Linked DNA regions of Homo sapiens: all the other regions are linked to region 3. The links are contacts of gene promoters, found by promoter capture Hi-C in human tissues and cell types (Jung and others, 2019). All regions are on one chromosome and are shown on one strand. Each heading gives the region's core, a stretch centred on a gene start or on the middle of the fragment in contact. The rest is flanking DNA. Distances are from core to core; before and after follow the strand shown.

Region 1 (2,970 bases), core at 77-2,576, 220 kb before region 3:
GTCAGTATTTGCTTTATATATTTGGAACCCTAATGTAAGACACACATACACACACACACACAAATATATGTATATACACACATTTTTCAGGGTTTCCTAGTAAATGAACATTTTTAATATAGTTTATGTTCTTCTTTGTCTCTTATGAGCTTTTAGTTAAAATAAGTTTTATGAAATGGGAGTTTTTGACTTTAGATGTACTTTGGGTAATATAATTTTGACCTCTTCTGTTTGGTTCTTTGCATAAAGTTTTTTCTTTCATCTTGCCTTTTTCAGTCTCCTTTAATCATTAGATCTCAAGTGACTCTTGTGAAAAAGCAAGTTGTGGCTGGGTGTAGTGGCTCACGCCTGTAATCCCAGCACTTTGGAAGGCCGAGGTGGGTGGTCACGAGGTCAGGAGATTGAGATCACTGGCTAACATGGTGAAACCCCGTCTCTACTAAAAATACAAAAACAAAATTAGCCGGGCGTGGTGGCGGGTACCTGTAGTCCCAGCTACTCAGGAGGCCAAGGTGGAAGAATGGTGTGAACCCAGGAGGCAGAGCTTGCAGTGAGCCGAGATCACGCCACTGCACTCCAGCCTGGGTGACAGAGTGAGACTCCGTCTCAAAAAAAAAAAAAAAAAAAAAAAAAAGAAAGAAAGAAAGAAAAACAAGTTGTATCTTGTTTTTTGATTTCTTAAATAAATTTATTTGCATGTATTTCCAATGCAAAGATTACTTCATAAATATTTAAATAATTTGCTGAAATGGAAAGGCTTATTCATGTTATTTTATTAATTGTTTTACTTGATTATTGTATTTTTGTCCCTTATTTTCTTTTCTGTCTTCCTTTTGACTTTTGTGTGGATAGATTTTTACTTCTTATTTTATTCATGTTATTTTATTAATTGTTTTACTTGATTATTGTATTTTTGTCCCTTATTTTCTTTTCTGTCTTCCTTTTGACTTTTGTGTTGATAGATTTTTACTTATTTTTTCATGTATCCATACAGATACTTACTTTTTGGTATTTTGGAAATTACATAAAATTTCTTAAAATAATACATTTTAAACTGGTTATTTCAGTTGCGTTTGAAAATTCTTCCTCATTACATCTGCCCTCAACTTTGTTATTAATGTCACTAATTATATTTTTATGTTGCTTATTTATTAACAGATTATGATGAACAGTTTATGATCATTTTTATGCTCTTTAAAATTTTAGAGAATAATTAAAATGTTTTCTGCACTATCATGATAATGGTACAGAACCTTACATTTGTATATGTTCATGTCTTTCCCAAAAAGTTACTTATTTTCATATGATTATGTTTTGTTTTCTTGCATCATATTATTTTCAGTGGAAGATACTTTCTTCAGCATTTCTTTTCTAAGGCAGGTGTTGTGCTAATACACTTTTTCAACATTTGGTTATCTTGAAAGAGCTTTACTTTTTCTTCATTTTTAGGACAGTTTTGCATGTTATGGTATTCCTGCTTACAAGCTTTCTTTCAGCATTTTAACTATATCACAATTCCCTCTTGTCTAAAAAAATTTTGTTGACAGATTCACTGGTTATGTAAGACCACACTTATAAATGACACATCACTTTTATCTTGCAACTCCTAAGATTCTCTGTCTTTGACTTTTGAAACTTTGCTTATATAAATCTCTGTGTATGTATCCTAGTTGAAGTTTGTTGAGCTTCTTCATTTTTTACATCCTTATTTTACTTTTGGAACTTTCTCACTCATTACTTTTGTATTTTTCACATCCACAATTTGTTTTTTATATTTTAACGTTTTCATCGATACCTCATTTGTCTTATTATATTTAGTTGTATGTGTTCCCCTTTAGCTCATTGAGGATTTTTCAGGTTAATTTTTTAAAATTTCTACATCTTCATTTCTTATGGTTGTTTTCTGAAAAGTTTTAAATTTTTTAATTGGGCCATGTTGCCCTAATATTTTGTATATATTGTAACATCTGTTTGTTATTTGAACATTAACAAAAAGGTATTTGTCACAATCTTTACAGTGTTGCCTTGTCCTGACATAGTCTGAAACCTGTTGTCTTTGATAGAGATAATGGGAGCCTCTCATACATGTTCTAAGGATGTGTCTTGTCTGGAATTTTGTGTTTGTTTTTCAGTGAAAAGGGATTATTCATGTTTCTTCTTATGGTCTCTAGTCACTCTTCTACCTATTCCCTGTATTTAACACTGCAGCCTGCTCCTGAAACATTTACGTTTGGTCTTAGCAGACCCAAGCTGTTCTTCCAAAGTATAGCACCGTTTCTCTCAGCTCTCTGTGTTGTTGGAGACAGAAACCAGATTTTGTAAAGACCCCAGAAAGCCAGAAGTAAGGATATGTGTATCAGTATTTTTCTTCTAAGTAAGAAGCCAGGAGTTGACAGTTTACTCCTATAGGCACAATGCTATATTGGGGAGGAGGAAAGCTGTGGTGGGTAAATATAACAAACTTTCCTTCCTGTTCCATGTGGTTCTTAGTATTGTACTTACCTGAGGCGTTGCATACAGTTAACTCATTTACAGATTTTGCACAAAGGTATTTTGGTTTGTATATCTTTGTTACATGTCTGTGAAGAAATTATGGCCTGTGATATTTTGTTATGCTATCTTACTAATGCAGTTTGTATACATTTTCGATATTACATTCGTAAAGTATATTCATATGAATCTAGTAAGTGGGATAATTTGTTATTTTTATTTCTTTCAGCTATATGTTCTCCTTTCAGCCAAGACCTTTCACCAGTGCAGGGGATAGAAGATTCATTCCACAAACTTATACTGAAAAGATACGAGAAATGTGGACATGAGAATTTACAATTAAGAAAAGGCTGTAAACGTGTGAATGAGTGTAAGGTGCAGAAAGGAGTTAATAATGGAGTTTACCAGTGCTTGTCAACTACCCAGAGCAAAATATTTCAATGTAATACATGTGTTAAAGTTTTTAGTAAATTTTCAAAT
Region 2 (2,885 bases), core at 148-2,647, 190 kb after region 3:
GTGGCGGCGGGCGCCTGTAGTCCCAGCTACACGGGAGGCTGCGGTAGGAAAATGGCGTGAACCCGGGAGGCGGAGCTTGCAGTGAGCGGAGATGGTGCCACTGCACTCCAGGCTGGGCGACAGAGCGAGACTCCGTCTCAAAAACAAACCAACAAAAAAAAAACAGGCCGGGCGCGGTGGCTCATGCCTGTAAATCCCAGCACTCTGGGAGGCCGAGGCGGGCGGATCACGAGGTCAGGAGTTCAAGAACAGCCTGACCAACATGGTGAAACCCCGTCTCAACTAAAAATACAAAAATTAGCCGTGCGTGGTGGCACGCACCTGTAATCCCAGCTACTCAGGAGGCTGAGGCAGGAGAATTGCTTGAACCCGGGAGGCAGAGGTTGCAGTGATCTGAGATCACGCCACTGCATTCCAGCCTGGGCGACAGAGTGAGATTTCATCTGAAAAGAAAAAGAAAAAAAAAAAAAAAAAAAAAAAAAGAAGGACATTGGTTCTGTCCAGAAAGGCGGGGGCAACTTGGAACAGGGAGGGGGCTTCCAGGTCACAGGTAGGTGACAGACAAATGGTTGCAGTTTCTGGGTTTCTGATAAGCCTCTCCAAAGGAGGCTATCAATATGCATTTATCTCAGTGAGCAGAGGAATGACTTTGAATAGAATGGGAGGCAGGTTTGTCCTGAGCAGTTCCGAGCTTGTCTTTTCCCTTAGTTTAGTAATTTTGGGGCCCCAAGATTTTCCTTTCAGAAAAAAGAAAATGTGGTATATATACACAATGGAGTACTATTCAGCTCTAATAAAAGAATGAAACCCTATCATTTGCCACAACACGGATAAACCTGAGGATATCATGTAAGCAAAATAAGACACAGAAAGACAAATACCTCATGATCTCACTCATGTGGCATCTTTAAAACGAAGTTAATCATTAAGATATTTACCAGTTGTCTGAGGTATTGGGTTGAATTTTCTTTTTTTTTTTTTTTTTGAGACGCAGTCTCGCTCTGTTGCCAGGCAGAAGTGCAGTGGCGCGATCTCGGCTCACTGCAACCTCCGCCTCCCAGGTTCAAGCGATTCTCCTGCCTCGGCCTCCCGAGTAGCTGGGACGACAGGCACCCGCCATCACGCCCCGCTAATTTTTTGTATTTTTAGTTGAGACGGGGTTTCACCATGTTGGCCAGGATAGTCTCGATCTCCTGACCTCGTGATCCGCCCGCCTCGGCCTCCCAAAGTACTGGGATTAAAGGCGTGAGCCACTGCACCCTGCCTTCCAAATTAAAAACTTTTTAAAACCTCGTACCTCGCCGTGGGCGGCGACCGTCGCGGACTCGCCGGGAAGACGGCCCCACGGAGCCGGGAACACCGCCCGCTGTTCGTATGTCCGAGGTGACGCCCCGCTGTGGCGGGCTGGCGGAAGTGACGCGCTGCTGTGGCGCGCCGGCGGACGTGACGCCACTGTCGCTGCGACGATAAGGCCTGGCGTTATTGCTTAGAGGCGGCTACCTGGAGCCGGAAGCGCGGCTGCAGCAGGGCGAGGCTCCAGGTGGGGTCGGTTCCGCATCCAGCCTAGCGTGTCCACGATGCGGCTGGGCTCCGGGACTTTCGCTACCTGTTGCGTAGCGATCGAGGTGCTAGGGATCGCGGTCTTCCTTCGGGGATTCTTCCCGGCTCCCGTTCGTTCCTCTGCCAGAGCGGAACACGGAGCGGAGCCCCCAGCGCCCGAACCCTCGGCTGGTACGGACCCCTCCCCGGCGTCTCCGCTCCCCTGACCCCACATCCCCTAGAAGACCTTTTTTCTGAGCCTCGCTGCTCGGATTTCTTCTCGGCGCTCCCCGGTGGTCTCTTCCATTATGGTCCCCACCTCAGAAATTTTTTTTAACCGCTCCAGCGTCTCTTTTCTGTATTCTTACAACTTTGTGGCAACCACCTCTACTGGCCCCACTTCGACCTTCCTTCCTGATCACCACAAAGTAAGCTGTGTCCATACCTGGGATCCAGCCTCTCCACTTCTACTCGTCCAGAGCTCCCGCCCCTTTCCTGAGCAGCCTTTGGGTCACTCCCCGTTATAGGCGCCCTTTTTGCCCCCTAGCACACAACAGATAAGACCCCTGCCGATCCCCTCGCGTTTTGGTCTCTTATATTCCTCCAAGATGTTTTCCCTGCCTAGGGGCTAAGGCCTCTCTGCGTTAGGCCTCTTCCTAGGCTTCACCTACCCAGCCATATACAGCAAGTAAAGGCGCCCTGGTTCTGGACCACTTGCACACATCGCCAGCCGCTGACCATGTAAACGCAGTATGTAAACGCCCAGCCATCCCGTAGCTGCAGCTCTGCGTTTTAGGTCAAGCTCCCTAAATGTCCCATTCCAGGACCCTTACGTAGGGATTCTCCTACCCCAGTACTCTTCACCATACTGAGGATAATTCACTGCTTGCTACTGTGGGTCCCTAAGATTACTCCTGTTAACCCCCGTCCTTTCCCCCCAGCACTACCTACCAAGTACAAGTCGCCTCCTTTTGGGTTGGGTTATGTAGATATCGCAGGGTATGTGCTGGAGAAGTAGGTAGAAGCTAGATTGTGAAGGTGCTTGATGCTAAGGAAAGTTTAGAGTTCAATTTCCTTTTTTTTCTTTCAAACACTTAGGAGCCAGTTCTAACTGGACCACGCTGCCACCACCTCTCTTCAGTAAAGTTGTTATTGTTCTGATAGATGCCTTGAGAGATGATTTTGTGTTTGGGTCAAAGGGTGTGAAATTTATGCCCTACACAACTTACCTTGTGGAAAAAGGAGCATCTCACAGTTTTGTGGCTGAAGCAAAGCCACCTACAGTTACTATGCCTCGAATCAAGGTAAGTTTGCCTTAATGTTTTATGAATCATGGTTTGGCTGTT
Region 3 (2,821 bases), core at 126-2,625:
ACTGTGTGTGTTATTGGCAGAATACCCTAGGAGCAAAGCTGTCACGGGCACAATTCCTGAGGGTAGAACCCTGTCCTGGGAGGAGTGTGGCAATGCGAATGGCCAGTGAGCGTCCTCGGGAGTGGGTTAGCATTAAGTGGGGGCTGGCAGCAGGGTGCAGGGAAGGGATGTTTCTCAGAACTCCTTTCCTCTAAGTTCCCAGTCCCTTCTCTCCCCGGAAGGAGACCTGGAGGAAAAGGACAGTGCCCAGCGGGACAGCACATGTGCAGAACCCGGCCGCGCCTCCCGCAGACACCAGGCATCTTTCTCCAGCCCAGGCTCAGCCATGTCTTTCTTCTGACAGAAAACGTGCGGAGTTTGCTCAACATCAGTCAATGCTCCAACCCCAACGCGGTGTCCAGCAACTCACTAACGACACCACCCAGAGTCAGCGAAGACCCCACAAGCTCAGCGCTCTTCCCGCAGCTGCCCCCCCCCTGCAGACGGCAGTCCCTGCCTCTGGACACCCGTCTTCATTTCTGAACGCCTGCCTACAAACCAGGGGCGCCCACACCCTCCTCAAGTTCAATAATGTGGCAGAACTACTCACAGAACTCAGCGAAGCGCTGTGCGCGCCCACACCAGCGTATTCTAAAAGATGCCACTCAGGAACAGCCACGCGGAGGAGGCGCACAGGGCAAGGGGACTGGTGGGCAAGTTGGAGCGGGCGGGTGATTTGCTTCGCTTCCTCACACACCTCACAAAAGCTTTTCCTTCAAGACCCGCTGGCAGCCCCCAAACCACAAGCCATGCCCGGGGCTGTCCCATTAATTAGTCCCCATTTGCTCACATGAACTCTATGTTTTGATAGGGCCTCGATCTTATTCCGAACAGGGTAAAGTAGGGACTCGACGACCGGACCACAGCTCCTCCCAGGCGGGCACCTCGCACGCCACGCAGGCGTTTTCCCGATGAGCTCCTCCTCACCCCACAGCCCAGGGAAGGTGCGGGGCTGCGGGCGCAGAGCTGCACAAGTAGGGCTGCAGGCTGGGCCAAAGCCGCCTTGCGGGGACCGACATGAACCCGGGTCCCTCACCGGAAGGGACCAAGGACTGAGGGCTGAGCGGCGGCAGCGGAGACTCCGTTCGCAGACTCCGTCCCGCCGCCGCCATTTCCCGCCGGTTCGGATGAGGCCTCCCCAGCCTTGGGACGCCCTGCCCCCACACTCACCATTTCCCCACTTCAGGGGTGTAGCGGAGTCTCAGCTACGAATCATCCAATACCCGCAGGTCACAGAGCGACGGAGGCTGAGGCTGTGACCGAATCACCGACGCCTCCCTGAGGGGTGAAAGCACGGCCGTGGAGACCCTAACCGAGCTCACGCTGGCGCAAAAGGCAAAAGCCGCGCCAGATCCCGGATGCCGCCCCCTCCTCTCCGGCTGCGCGCCTGATTGGGCAGTTCTCAATCCAGCGCTCTGATTGGATAAGATACCAAGCTCCCCACGCTCAGAATTTGAGTGACAGAACTTGCCACCACACAGTGCACTTAATGAGGCAAGAGAGACAGACTCGTGCCTCCAGGTATTTTCAGTCAGGGCTTTCTGTGCTAGGCTTGGCTCTGTTGGGGGTTCATTTTTAACCTTCTGGTGTGTAAGGTTACGCCCATTTATAAATTGTGTACGTACGCGCGCGCACACACACAGACACACACTTGTTCACAAATGGAAACAATATAATGACAATTATTTTAATATTTTAGATTTCATAACCTCTCTGTCCTCTGGTCTTTTGAGTAGGATTTTAAGGGGGAAGCAATCCTTTAAAAAATAAAATGTTAGCTATTTGTGAATTTTCAATTTTTTATTAGCCACATCAAAAATAATAAAAAGAAACAAGTGAAATTGTTTATATTTTAACCTATTGTATCCAAAATATTGTTTCAATATGTGATCAATATATAATTAGAAATAAAGTATATTTCTGATTTAATTCGTCTAAACTCACTGTGTATTTTATGTTTGCAGCACATTTTACCTCAAACCAGCCACATTCCAGGTACTCAGTAGCTACATATGTCTGGTGGCTGCCACATCGAGTACAGCCATGAGGGCTCTGACCTCAAGAAAGTGAGGGCCTGAACACGTCTTTTCTACTGGAAGTAAGGGACCAGCCTCTCTACCAACTTTTCTCCTCAGGATGAAGGATGGGTAGGACAGTGCCCCTAGAGAGAGCAGGGGCTGCAAGCTGAGAGTGTCCACGTGAAGATCACTGTCTCCCCCTTGCTGTTTGGTACCAGTGTGGTGGTCTCCTCAGTTCAACCACGTCTGGGCTCTCTTCCCATGACCAGGAAGAATAAGACATACAGACACCAGAGAGTGAGTAAAGCAGAATAGGATTTATTAAGCATAGGGAAAGCTCTCAGCAGTAAGAGGGGACATGAAAGCAGGGTGCCAGAAATGGGGCTGAGTTTATATGGCAAGAACAAGGAAGTCTTCTGTGGGCTCTGCCCAAATGGGAGGGGTAAAGTTCCCCTATAACAGTGTTGCATCTGAGCATGCCTGGGATTGACCACAGTGACTCCGTCTTGGTTATTACCCATGAGTGCCCAAGCGAAACCCACAGCAGGTGGAAAGGGTGAAGCTAAAACCAAAATACTTATGTCATGTTAGGTAACATTATAAGGAGCTGGGTCAAGTTAATGACATTTAGGTTGATTTATTACACCTGGGCCTAAGTGGGGACAGTCCCTTCTGATCAACATCCTGGCATAAGAGGAAGTTCTTAACCACATTTCTTCCCACTAGCTACAAGGGTGGTGCATGTGCGGTCCCATGGGTGTTTT
Region 4 (3,009 bases), core at 402-2,901, 160 kb after region 3:
ATGAACAAAATGGTAGTCATAAGTTATTTCTCTGCCTTTTATCTTTTTTGTTGTCGTTTTTCTTTTCTTTTTTTTTTTTTTTGAGGTGGAGTCTCACTCTATCGCTCAGGCTGGAATGCAGTGGCACAATCTTGGCTCACTGCAACCTCCACCTCCAGGGTTGAAGCGATTCTCCTGCCTCAGCCTCAGTTATTAAAAGAAAACTGCAGAACTCCTCGTTGGTTTTCCTTTACCTAATGATTTCTGTGAAGTGAGACTTGGGTAGTAAGAAAAAGGAATTAAGACACTCTACCTGCCACCCTGCATGCGTGTGCACTCGCACACATGCTGTCTTCATGTAATCCAGTACCTTTACTTTCCTTTGAAACTGGTAAGGTTAAAATGGGGGGAAATCCTATATGTTTGCAATAATACCTTTTTGGAAAATTTAAGAAATCAAACTCCCCAGGCTCTCCATCTTCATTTATGCTTGAGTTGTTATGTGCTTTGAACTCTGATTATCAGAAGTTTTACTAAAATGTTGAAGAAATAATTCACTTTCATCTGCTTTCTACATTTTGTACATCTCAGTTCATAAAGGAAAGCTTGTTGATAGTGTAGTTTTCTAAATGCTGCAAATTTGCAGCCATTACCACTACCAAAGAAGTCTGAATGAGGGATTTTTTTCTTTCTTAAAATAGTTCCTGTTTCTGTAGAAATTTCATTTGTAGATTAAACTGCGATGGATGAGATATCAAAAAAACAAAGAAAGAAAGTGACATCTCAGGAGAAATCACTCATTATGGCAAAGAGAGTACCAAAGGCAATGGTATTAAATGATTCATGAGAATCCAACCATATAATCCAGTCACCTCCCACCAGGCCCCACCTACAACATTCAGGCTTACAATTTGATGTGAGATTTGAATGGCGCCACAGATCCAAACCATATTACTTACAAAAGCCAAAAAGTGAAAAACCTCAAACATCCTTCAACAGATGAATAATTTAAAAGGATGCGGCTTGGCCGGGCGCGGTGGCTCACGCCTGTAATCCCAGCACTTTGGGAGGCCAAGGCAGGCAGATCACAAGGTCAGGAGATAGAGATCATCCTGGCTAACACGGTGAAACCCCGTCTCTACTAAAAATACAAAAAAAAAATTAGCCGGGCGTGGTGGCAGGTACCTGTAGTCCCAGCTGGAGGCTGACGCAGGAGAATGGTGTGAAACCAGGAGGTGGAGCTTGCAGTGAGCCGAGATTGCGCCACTGCACTCCAGCCTGGGTGACAGAGCAAGACTCCATCTCAAAAAAAAAACAAACAAACAAAAAAGGATGTGGCTTACATGGCTTACACATACAATGAAAAATTCTTTAGAATCAAATGAAAATATCTTGTCGGATCATACAATAAGGATAAATCTTAAAGCCATTATTTTAATAAGACACTATTTAGACACCATTATTTAATAAGACACTAACAAAGTGACAATGTATGATTCCACTTACATAAGATATTTTAAGTAGTAAATTCCTAGAAAACATAAGTAGAATGGTGCTTGCCTATAGTTAGGGTTGTGAAACCTCAGTGGAGTCAAAGACCAAGGAAGGGTTATTTGGAAAAAGCAGGCCCTCACCCAGGTGGCCAACTCCAGAGCCCATAGACATGGCTACAGACAAGAAAATGGTGCATGCAGCTTGGTCTTACTGAGGATTATGAAGCAGTTCTCAATCTCAGCTGTAGTCCAGAAATGGTCCTTCCCATCAAGAGACCTGCAGGAAGACACACCCAGCCATGACCCTGGAGGCAGGCCTGCAGATCCTGGCCTCAGTTGTGCTCCTTGAAGCAGCCCTGTGACTCAGTTCAAGCCATTTGTAGTCACAGTCCGTGGCCACTCGTACACACTCAGAGGCCCACAGAGAGACCTATAAAAACTGTTCCCAGGGGCTGGGCGCGGTGGCTCACGCCTGTAAGCCCAGCACTTTGGGAGGCCGAGGCGGGCAAATCAGGAGGTCAGGAGATCAAGACCAGCCTGGCTAACACAGTGAAACCCCGTCTCTACTAAAAATACAAAAAATTAGCTGAGCGTGCCGGGTGCGGTGGCTCACACCTGTAATCCCAGCACTTTGGGAGGCCGAGGCGGGCGGATCACGAGGTCAGGAGATCGAGACCGCGGTGAAACCCTGTCTCTATTAAAAATACAAAAAATTAGCCTGGCACGGTGACGGGCGCCTTTAGTCCCAGCTACTTGGGGGGCTGAGGCAGGAGAATGGCATGAACCCAGCAGGCGGAGCTTGCAGTGAGCTGAGATAGCACCACTGCACTCCAGCCTGGGTGACAGAGTGAGACTCCGACTCAAAAAAAAAAAAAAATTAGCTGGGTGTGATGGAAGCGCCTGTACTCCCAGCTAGTTGGGAGGCTGAGGCAGGAGAATCGCTTGAACCTGGGAGGCGGAGGTTGCAGTGAGCCAAGTTCATGGCACTACACTCCAGCCTGGGCGACAGAACCAGATTCCGTCACAAAAAAAAGAAAAAAAAAAACTGTTCCCAGGTAGTCAGTAAAAGCTAAACCCATTTATACACCTGGTATTTGGGCCATCATATGCAGACAAATTTCAAAACCCAATCCTACTGCCTGCCATATAGATTAATGTCCTCAAGGAAATCTAATCTTTCCAGGGCCCAGAAAGAATCTGTGACTGTCTAAATCTCTGGTAACACAACCCTCAAAGGCAGGCCACACAGCAGACCCAGCAGCACCCTTGAGACTCAGCTACAACCCTTCTTCTCTGCAACCCCAGAGGTAATCTCATCAGCCTGGGGACCCAACAAAAGGAGATGTTTACCTGTCAAAAAACAGATTATACAAACTGTAATCATTGTTAAATCCTTAAAATATACAGACACAGGGCTGCTTCAGGGACCACAGCTGAAGCCAAGATCTGCAAGCATGCCTCCAGGACCACAGCTTCTATCTTAACATTATTACCAAAAGTTTGTATCAGAACAATTAGGCAAGAAAAAGGAGAACAA
Region 5 (2,835 bases), core at 47-2,546, 160 kb before region 3:
GTCACCTGGTGGGCCATTTAAACATTTTATAAAGGGATTTCATTCAGTTGTTATTTTCAATGCATGTTTTCTGTTGTATAAAAGCTTTACTATGCAAGGAGGCTGAGATTATTATGCTACAGTATATTTCCAGCAGGTAAAAAAGCTTTTTATGGTTTAAATCTTCTGAGAACATAGGAGAAAAACTGTCCTTGCCACCCACACTACAACAAAATGTCAGGACTTTGGGCTTTAGGTTAACGGGTTTTGATAAGGGTCCCTCCACATTTTTGGAACTGTGCAGCCATTGGAACCCTTGAGGTGAAGCTAACCAGGGAGATTTCTCCCAAGAAGATGGCATCCTTGATGTAAACAGCTTTTCCCAAGTTCACAAATTAAAACTTCTATCATAAAACTCTTACCTTTGAATTTTTTTTCTTATGCTTCTACAAACATTAAAAGTAGAAAAGGGATCTGTTAAGTGCATTTATGGAGTATACTTCTATTTGTGAAGGAGTTTGCAGCCAGCCTTATATATGGATAAGCTTATACTTAGATAAATAAAAGATGAAAGCCCAGTCAGTGTAAGTAAGAAACTTTAATGGTACATACATTGCCTCATAATCAGTCCAAAAACAAAACATTGGTTCACTCCTGTTAACCCACACCGTGGGCTAAAGAGACCATTGCCAGGAGGCCTTCACTCTTCTAGAGGGGCATCATTTGTTAGGTCCTTTCCCATGGTTTAAAGTAAAAGAAGCAATGATTTAAAAAGGTATCCCTCATGATAGGCTCTATAGCAAATTCTACTGTAAAGGCTACAGTTACACAATAGACTTTAAATTCTTTTGTGAAAGTTATAATAGAATTGACTAAACAAAGAGGTACCTGTGCAGCTGCTGGCACTTGTGGCTTATGGAGAAATACATCAAATGAAGATTATAGAAATTCAGTGGTAGGGGATTAACAAAGAAATTGCTTAGTTAAGTAAGTAAACTCTTTATCTGGCTCATTCTTTGATCTATTTAATTTTACGAGGTTTGGTTTATGGAAACCTTGAGTAAGGAGCATACTGTGAACTCTTGGTATTTTCCTCCCAATAGTCATAATAATAGTCTCCCTTGTGTGCTGTATTCTCTCAAAGGTTTTAAATGCTTGCATGCAGCCATCTCTAGGATGTCATATGGTCTCTCTTCAACTAGAATAACAGAAGCTAAAAGAAACGTGCAACCATGAGAACACCGTAACCTATAAATAATGTGCTGAGACCAGAAATCCAAAATGATGGTAACTGAGAGTGGCTCTAAGGCCCTAAATTTTGGACACACACTAATCTAAGTGAGAACCTAACCAAAAAGGGGGAATTTCGTTTTGTTTTGTTTGAGACGGAGTCTCTGTCACCCAGACTGGAGTGCAGTGGTGTAATCTTGGCTCACTGCAACCTCTGCCTCCCAGGTTCAAGCAATTCTTTGCCTCAGCCTCCCAAGTAGCTGGGATTAGTGCCTACCACCACGCCTGGCTAATTTTTCTATTTTTAGTAGAGACGGGGTTTCACCATTTTGTCCAGGCTGATCTTGAACTCCTGACCTTGTGATCCACCTGCCTTAGCCTCCCAAAGTGCTAGGATTACAGGCGTGAGCCAGTGTGCACGGCCAAGGGGGAAGTTTTTAAACAAAATTCTGGGATGCCATTGTTTTGGACTAAGCTCATACACTAGGCACCAACAGACCAAAACAAAATGGAGTTGCTTGTGCCAAGACTTTAAGGAAACACATAAATTCTAGAACAAATCAGGTTTTTTTTCTCCTGCAAATCTCTGTAACAAACATTCTTAACAGCATAGGTATCCACCCCCATTATATCTTTTAACCAAACACGTTTGCTCTTGCCTAGAGACCATCAAGCTTCACTGATCATGCAGTGAAATCTCCAGCCAGTTCCAGGTGAAAACACACCCCTGGCCATCAAGAAACTACCCTGCCTCCACTAGACAGAACAGGGCGAGAGTACTGTGATCCCCAATAGACAGGGACTATGCCCCAAGCCAGCATAAAGCAGTTACAGAAAGAAAAAGACCGTTGACCCCCCCGTCTCCTATAAGGATTTATGGGGATCACATCTCTCGGGGGACATGAGGCAGGAAAACGGTCTGGAGGCAGGGACCATAAGCCCAATTCACACTTCAGCTATAACAGGAAATATCCTCTCCATAGGGCATCCACCGTTAATAACTAAATTTACTTCACCCTCTCCATTTACGTTGGGCATACCCAAAGTAACCAATGGAATACTCTAGGTGGTATTTAAGCTCCCAAAAATTCTGTAAGGGGGCCTTCGAGCCCCTATGCTCGGGCCCGCACTGTGGAGTGTACTTTCATTTTTAGTAAATCCTTTTATTCCTTCCTTGCTTTGTGTATTTTGTCCAATTCTTTGTTCAAGATGCCAAGAACCCGGATACTTTCTAGCGGTAACAATATATTCCTGACAGCTTTGTCAAAAAGAAGTTTGCTGTAATATGGATTTATCTCTGCATTCGCTCTACTGTTTTACTGATCAGTTTTATGCCATTTTAATTACGGTAGCTCTGTTGTATCATTTAAATTCAAATACTATGATTCCTCCAGTTTCTTTTCTGGTACAATGGCTTTGGCTATTTTGAGTCTTTTATGGGTCTGTCTACATTATAAGATTGTTTTTCCTATTTCTGTGAAGAATGTCATTGATGCTTTGATAGGAATTGCATTAAATCTGTAGATCATTTTGGGTAGTATGAAAATTTTAATAATACTGATCCTTCCTATTCATGAACATAAAATATCTTTCCTTTTTTTTCTCTTGTTTAATTTCTTGCATCGA
Region 6 (3,147 bases), core at 481-2,980, 240 kb before region 3:
ACCTCGGCTCACTGCAACCTCTGCTGCCCTGCAGCCTCCACCTCCCGGGTTCAAATGGTTCTTCTGCCTCAGCCTCCTGAGTAGCTGGGATTACAGGTGCCCGCCACGGGGTTTCACCATGTCGGCCAGGCAGGTTTTGAACTCCTGACCTCAAGTGATCCGCCCACCTCTGCCTTCCAAAGTGCTAGAATTACAGGCCTGAGCCACCGTGCCTGGCCCGCCTTCTAGATTTCTTAAATGCACTATGTCATTAACCGGCTTAGAACATTCCTAAGTGTATATTAAGCTCTCAATTGTTACCTTATTTCTTGATAAACTATTATCTTATAATTTTGTCTTATTTAGTAGGAAGCCTCCTGGGATTCTGTCATTGAGCTATAATCCATCTATATGTAGAACTGTGTGTCACACACACATACACATACCTATATGAGTCATATATGTGTATAGGAAATTCTCGCTTAACATCATTGATAGGTTCTTGGAAACTGTAAGTAAAGCAACATATTGTTTAAGAAAACTAATTTTACCAGAGTTTAATAAATAAAAACAAGTTATGTTTGAATGGCATGTAACAACATTGTTTCATTTAAAGATGCAGTTTTCAAGAATCTATTTTGAACATTAAATGAGGACTTAACATACATCTGTGTTTGTGTGATACGGATTTTTCTGATAAAATTATATAACTATATTTAATTTGTACAATGTAATGATTTGATATGCATATACATTTTGAAACAAAATGTCAAGTTGATGAACACATTTATTACCTCACATAGATAACCATTTTTTTTTTTGTCACAAGAACACTTGAGGTCTACTGTTGTAGCAAATTGTAAGCATACTTTACAGTATTACTATAAAGACAATGCTATTTTGCTAATCTAATGCTAATGTACATTAGCTTTCTCAGACTTACTCAACTTACAACTAATCATTTGTACTCTTTGAACAGCATCTCCTCATATTCCCACCCTCAGGCACTAACAACCACCATTCTACTCTCTGTTCCTATGAGTTTACATTTTTAGATTCCTCATCTAACTGAGAACATGCAGTTTCTTTGTGTTTGGCTTATTTCACTTAGCGTAATGTCTTCAAGGTCTATCAATGCTGTAAATGGCTAGATTTCCTTCTCTTTTATGGCTGAATAGTATTCTACTGTGTGTGTATATATATAAATTTTTTTGGCTATTTTAAGCAAAACTAAAATGAACATGGGGCTGAAGATTGTTCTTTGAGGTACTAATTTTATTTCCTTTGGTAGTATTCCCAGAGGTGGTATTGCTGAATTATGTGATGCTTTCATTTTTATTTTTTACTGATTTGTATGATGACTTTATCAATTTATATCTCACTAGTGGCATACAGGATTTCCCTTGTATGTATGTCTTCTTTGTGGGAAAAACAAAACTAACCTTTTGCCTATTTTTGAATAGGTTATCATCATTATTGTTTTGCTTTGAATTGCAGAAGTTTCTTACACATTTTGGATATTAACTATCAGATATATGGCTTGCAAATATTTTTCTATTGTGTAGGATTTTTTAAAATTTTGGTTTTTTCCTTTACTGTACAGAAGCTGTACACTTTGATGCAGTCCCACTCTTTTGTATTTTCTTCTGTTGCTGTGCTTTTGATGACATACCAAATTGCCAAGACCAATATCAACAAGGTTTTTCCATATGTTTTATTCAGGAGTTTTAAGCTTTTATGTCTTACATTTAAGTCTTTTATTTTGAGTTAATTTTGGGGTATGGTATAAGAAAATTTTATTTATGGTATAGTCTAATTTTATTCTTTTGCTTGTGGATATCCAGTTTTTCTGGTACCATGTATTGACAAGACTATACTTTCTGCATTGTATATTATTGGTGGCCTTGTCAAAGATTAGTTGACCTTGTATGCATGGATATGTTTCTGGGCTCCCTATTCTGTTGCATTGGTTTTTGTATCTGTTTTTATGAATATACTATACTCTTTTGATTACCATGACCTTTAAGTAAAGTTTGAAATTAGAAAGTATGATGTCCCCAGCTTTGTTCTTTCTCAAGATTGCTCAGGTTATTTTAAGTTATTTAAGATAACACTTAAATTTTACAATTGTGTTTTCTATTACTGTGAAAAATGCCACTCAAATTTTGATAGGGATGACATTGAATCTCCATATCACTTTGGATAATATTCCTTGACAATATTAGTTATCCTAATGGAATATGTTTTCATTTATTTTTACCTACTTCAATTTCTGTCATCAATATCTTAACTGTGTTAGTGTATACATTTTTATCTCATCCTTTACATTTTAAAATTTATTTTATTTATGTACTTATTTTATGAGACAGAGTCTCACTCTGTTCCCTAGGCTGAAGTACAGTGGCACAATCTCAGCTCACTGCAACCCCCGCCTCTCAGGTTCAAGCGATTCTCCTGCCTCAGCCTCCCGAGTAGCTGGGATTACAGGCGCGCACCACCATGCCTGGCTAATTTTTTTGTATTTTTAGTGGAGATGGGGTTTTGTGACCCAGCAGCACCCTTGTGACCCAGCTATGACCTTTCTTCTCAGCAACCCCAGAGGTAATCTTATCAGCCTGGGGACCCAATAAAAGGAGATCTTTACTTGCCAAAGATAGTTTTTTTTAGTGGAGATGGGGTTTTGCCATAGTTTATAGAAACTGTTAAGAGTTGTTAGATCCTTCAAATATACAGACATGGGGCTGTTTCAGGGACCAAAGCTGAGGCCAAGATCCACAAGCATGCCTCCAGGGCCACAGCTTCTACCTTAACATATTACTGAAAGTTTGTATCAGAACAATTAGACAAGGAAAATAACAAAGCTTTCCAGCTTGGAATAAAAGTAAAAATGTTACTGTTTGTAGATAATATAATTATGCGTATATACAAAACCCTAGAGTGAAACAACAAAAACTGAACTAATAAATGCATTCATTAAGGTATCAGGATACATGACCAACATAAAAATACTTGTGGGGTTTTTTTGTTTGTTTGAGATAGGGTCTCACTCTGTTGCCCAGGCTCATCTCAAACTCCTGTGCTCAAGTGATCCACCTTCCTTGGCCTCTAGCCTCTGAAAGTGTGCAGGGACTACAGAAATGAGGCACTGCACCTGACCCTACATACAAA
Region 7 (3,060 bases), core at 451-2,950, 200 kb before region 3:
ATTTGCCTACTATAGGGATGAACTATGTGGACAGGTGCCCATATTATTACACTACATTAATACAAATACACCTCCCAGCCCTAGAAAGTAACATACAATTCTGCAGCCAGGAGACGTTAGAATGCTGCTCGAGGATTCCAGGATCTCAGAGGCTGGATTTCAGAGTTCTGAATTTTAGACTTTTCAAGGACATGTGCCCATCTGGGGTTCAGGCATAATAGACTATACTTACTAGATGGTGACTGTGTGCATGCCACCATAACATGTTACACTATTAACTCATTTAAGGGACTCCATGAGGCAGGTACTGCTATCTTCACTTTACAGGAGACACTGAGCACAGGCAAGTAACTTGCCCATGGTCACAAACCTGGAAATAGCAGAGCAGCTGGGATGTGAACCCAGAGTCTGTGTACTTAGCCACAGTGCAATCCTGCATAACTACAGAACAAACTATGTGTGTGAGCTCTGATGGCAAGGCAAGCTGGCTGGGTTTAGATCCTGGCTCCTCGACTCTGGGGCAGCATGGTCTTGACCTGCCTGTGCTTTAGTTTCCTCCTCTGTAAAATAAGCATAATAACAGTGTCTTCTGGGTTTGGAGCTGTCTCCAGGTTTAGCCTCCCTGTGTTTTTTCTGTCCCCTTCACACTCTGGCCACCAGCCAGTCCTGCTTATAATAATCTCCTCCCATTCCATACCAAGGCTCTGGTAAATTAATGTCTGTGCAGGGTGTGAATGACTGACAGCAACTAACTCAATTTCCTAGCAGCCTAATCCAGAAGGATGCCTTCCTAAAAATAATATTCTAATTTTGGATAAATTTTAATTTATTAAAATTATAATTTTAATTGTTATTAATTCCTGGGGACAGGCTGGTGAAAAAATTTCCTGGGGACAGTCTGATGTCAAAAATCCATTTCCTTTACAGGATTACAAGAAAATAAGAACTATCAATATCTCTAAAAGACCATGTTCACTTGCAGTGTTTATGAGGTTAAATGGTTGATGCAGGATAAAAGGCTTTCATTTGGCTCCTTGACTTTCTGGGTTTTTGGATTTTCCTGTGTTTGGTCATCACCTTCTCTCTCCTCCTCAGCATGGCTGTGCTTGTTCCCTAAACCTACACCTGTGCTCACACCAGGCCTTCTGCCTGGTAGTCCAACCCATAAACCCTTTTTCTTTTTTTTTTCTAGACAATTAAGTTAAACTCAGGGTGACTTTTAATATTGCCAGTCAATATTAATGAAACACAAGTCAAAGACAAATACAAACATATTTTACAACAAAATCAGTGAGAAAGCCATGGACAAATTCTTTTTTTTTTTTTTTTTTTGCAAAATACATTAGCCAGTATTAGTAGTCAAACGGCTAATCACAGAAAAAAATCTATTTTGTAAAAAACTTGGAATGTCAGAAGTAATTCTGGCATTACAAACAGCTGTGTAGAGGATCACCAAGATAAGTTTATATACACATACACTTGAGAGAAACCAGACAAAACATTGAACAACAGACTAACAATATGATCAAATACAAAATTGGGAAGGAGGTATTTTTTTAAGAGTCAGGGAAGTTCATTACCAGAACAAAATTACAAAACTCAGTAATTATTATACTGGATTAATACAAAATTCCAAAGCTTTAAAGTTCAAAGAAAAAAAAAAGGCCAATAGCTGCTTTTCATCAAGACCAGCTGTACACTTTACATATTTGTTTCAAAAAGAAAGCCTATTAACAACAGTAATTGTTTAATGCTAAAAGTTTACAGCAGAGACAAAACTGAAATAGCAAATTTATAAGGCAATACTTCCACAGAATTATCATCCCATGTCTCATGCTAAGGCTACAAAGTGCTCCCAGTTGGATATACAAGTATAATTCACTTAAAACATATATATATAGAGAGAGAGAGAGAGAGAAATTTCATACACAGGTGCATTGAAGGCTGAGTAGTAATGGGCGGTTTTAGCATTTGCCTTATTGAGAGAATATGTTTGTGATCAAGCCCTTGAATCCTTTCTTCAGGCCACCGCGGGAAAAGATACCTTCATTACAGGACAACAGCACACTGAGAGCAACACACCACCACAGCGGTTAATTTTGCAAAGACTGCGTTAACATCCGCCAGTGACTGACATTTTACAGAAGACAGACTGGTAAGACTATATAAAAGCCTGAAAAAGCTATGGTCAAAATACAGTTTTCAATTGTAATTCACAAATAAAAGTCCTAATCAGTAAAACCACTGACACCAATAGAGAGAGTAATTGCAAATTGGATTCTAGCAGTGATTTCGACCTAGCTTGCTTTTTTCATAGTGTTTTTTGCGGGATGAGTAGGTGGGAAATGAGTAGTTTACTAGAAGGCTGACAGAGCACTTCATTTTCTTTCTAATAAGCCAAGATGTTGTGTTCCTATGCGTGGTGGACCTAGTGGCCTCTGATCAGTGAAGAGTGCTCCTTCCTCAGCTGCAGCCTTTACCATCTATGCCCTCGTGAGTTCTTTTTGTAAAAGTGTATTTTTGAAAGTTTCAACATTCAATCCTATACACAGTGGTTCTCTACTCTTCCTAGAAGCAGACAGCAGCAGTGAATGCTTTAGAGGGCCATTGCTGAGGGTCTTCTCTCTGGATATGAATGAATCATAACTTTTAGCAACTCTGAAAATTCTTGGGAAAGCACTTGTGGTATCTGAGGTAATCTATTCTCTCTGATTCCATGCCATTGGTCTCCATTCCTGGGAAGAGCACAGACCAGCAGCACAGACCACTGTGAGGGGAAGTGCAAGATATCTGCTTTTGGTAGATGGTATAATTCTCCTGTAAAACTTCACTTGCAAAAAAAAAAAAAGACTATCAGTCTCTTCAACTTGTGGGTTAGAGATCCTTGTTACATACCCACAATCACGAATTTTACAGGTAACTTTGTTGGATGCCCAGTCATCTTCATCTCCTTCTTCAGAGGCAGCACTGGGGATTGAGGTTTGAGACAAGGTTCCTTATCCCTGTGAATTAAAGACATTGAATGAATATACCTCGAGCCCCGGCCAACTTGCAGAAGGA

The links. The method cuts DNA at HindIII sites, captures the fragments that hold promoters and counts their contacts. A contact is called where the count stands out against the background at its distance.
Region 1: a contact is called between a fragment that was not itself captured here and the fragment with the promoter of ZNF732 in region 3, in 3 of the 25 tissues and cell types used here (IMR-90 fibroblasts, lymphoblastoid cells and mesendoderm cells).
Region 2: a contact is called between the fragment with the promoter of ZNF721 here and the fragment with the promoter of ZNF732 in region 3, in 1 of the 25 tissues and cell types used here (spleen).
Region 4: a contact is called between a fragment that was not itself captured here and the fragment with the promoter of ZNF732 in region 3, in 1 of the 25 tissues and cell types used here (lymphoblastoid cells).
Region 5: a fragment that was not itself captured here is called in contact with the fragment with the promoter of ZNF732 in region 3 in 7 of the 25 tissues and cell types used here (dorsolateral prefrontal cortex, heart left ventricle, liver and 4 more).
Region 6: a contact is called between a fragment that was not itself captured here and the fragment with the promoter of ZNF732 in region 3, in 4 of the 25 tissues and cell types used here (H1 embryonic stem cells, dorsolateral prefrontal cortex, mesenchymal stem cells and 1 more).
Region 7: a contact is called between a fragment that was not itself captured here and the fragment with the promoter of ZNF732 in region 3, in 2 of the 25 tissues and cell types used here (dorsolateral prefrontal cortex and spleen).

The regions. Positions count from the first base shown.
Region 1 is chr4:83,012-85,981 of GRCh38, forward strand. It overlaps ZNF595 (zinc finger protein 595), which reads left to right. Exons shown (of 4, transcript NM_182524.4): 4 at 2,720-2,970. Among named protein-coding and RNA genes, the nearest start is that of ZNF595, 31 kb to the left of the region's middle. The HindIII fragment of the contact is 3,659 bases long and covers 1-2,970 here.
Region 2 is chr4:497,759-500,643 of GRCh38, forward strand. It overlaps ZNF721 (zinc finger protein 721), which reads right to left and starts at 1,398. Exons shown (of 3, transcript NM_133474.4): 1 at 1,298-1,398. PIGG (phosphatidylinositol glycan anchor biosynthesis class G (EMM blood group)) reads left to right here and starts at 1,452. Exons shown (of 13, transcript NM_001127178.3): 1 at 1,452-1,731; 2 at 2,638-2,843. The coding sequence starts at 1,578. RefSeq lists enhancers at 684-1,549, 1,113-1,592, 1,550-2,413. The HindIII fragment of the contact is 23,753 bases long and covers 1-2,885 here.
Region 3 is chr4:304,099-306,919 of GRCh38, forward strand. It overlaps ZNF732 (zinc finger protein 732), which reads right to left and starts at 1,376. Exons shown (of 4, transcript NM_001137608.3): 1 at 1,210-1,376. The coding sequence starts at 1,212. The HindIII fragment of the contact is 17,523 bases long and covers 1-2,821 here.
Region 4 is chr4:465,933-468,941 of GRCh38, forward strand. The region is part of intron 2 of ZNF721 (zinc finger protein 721); the gene reads right to left. It also overlaps the pseudogene ABCA11P. Among named protein-coding and RNA genes, the nearest start is that of ZNF721, 32 kb to the right of the region's middle. The HindIII fragment of the contact is 4,523 bases long and covers 1-3,009 here.
Region 5 is chr4:141,853-144,687 of GRCh38, forward strand. The region is part of intron 3 of ZNF718 (zinc finger protein 718); the gene reads left to right. Among named protein-coding and RNA genes, the nearest start is that of ZNF718, 19 kb to the left of the region's middle. The HindIII fragment of the contact is 4,248 bases long and covers 1-2,835 here.
Region 6 is chr4:61,218-64,364 of GRCh38, forward strand. The region is part of intron 3 of ZNF595 (zinc finger protein 595); the gene reads left to right. Among named protein-coding and RNA genes, the nearest start is that of ZNF595, 9.5 kb to the left of the region's middle. The HindIII fragment of the contact is 3,988 bases long and covers 1-3,147 here.
Region 7 is chr4:103,605-106,664 of GRCh38, forward strand. It overlaps the pseudogene WEE1P1. Among named protein-coding and RNA genes, the nearest start is that of ZNF718, 19 kb to the right of the region's middle. The HindIII fragment of the contact is 6,771 bases long and covers 1-3,060 here.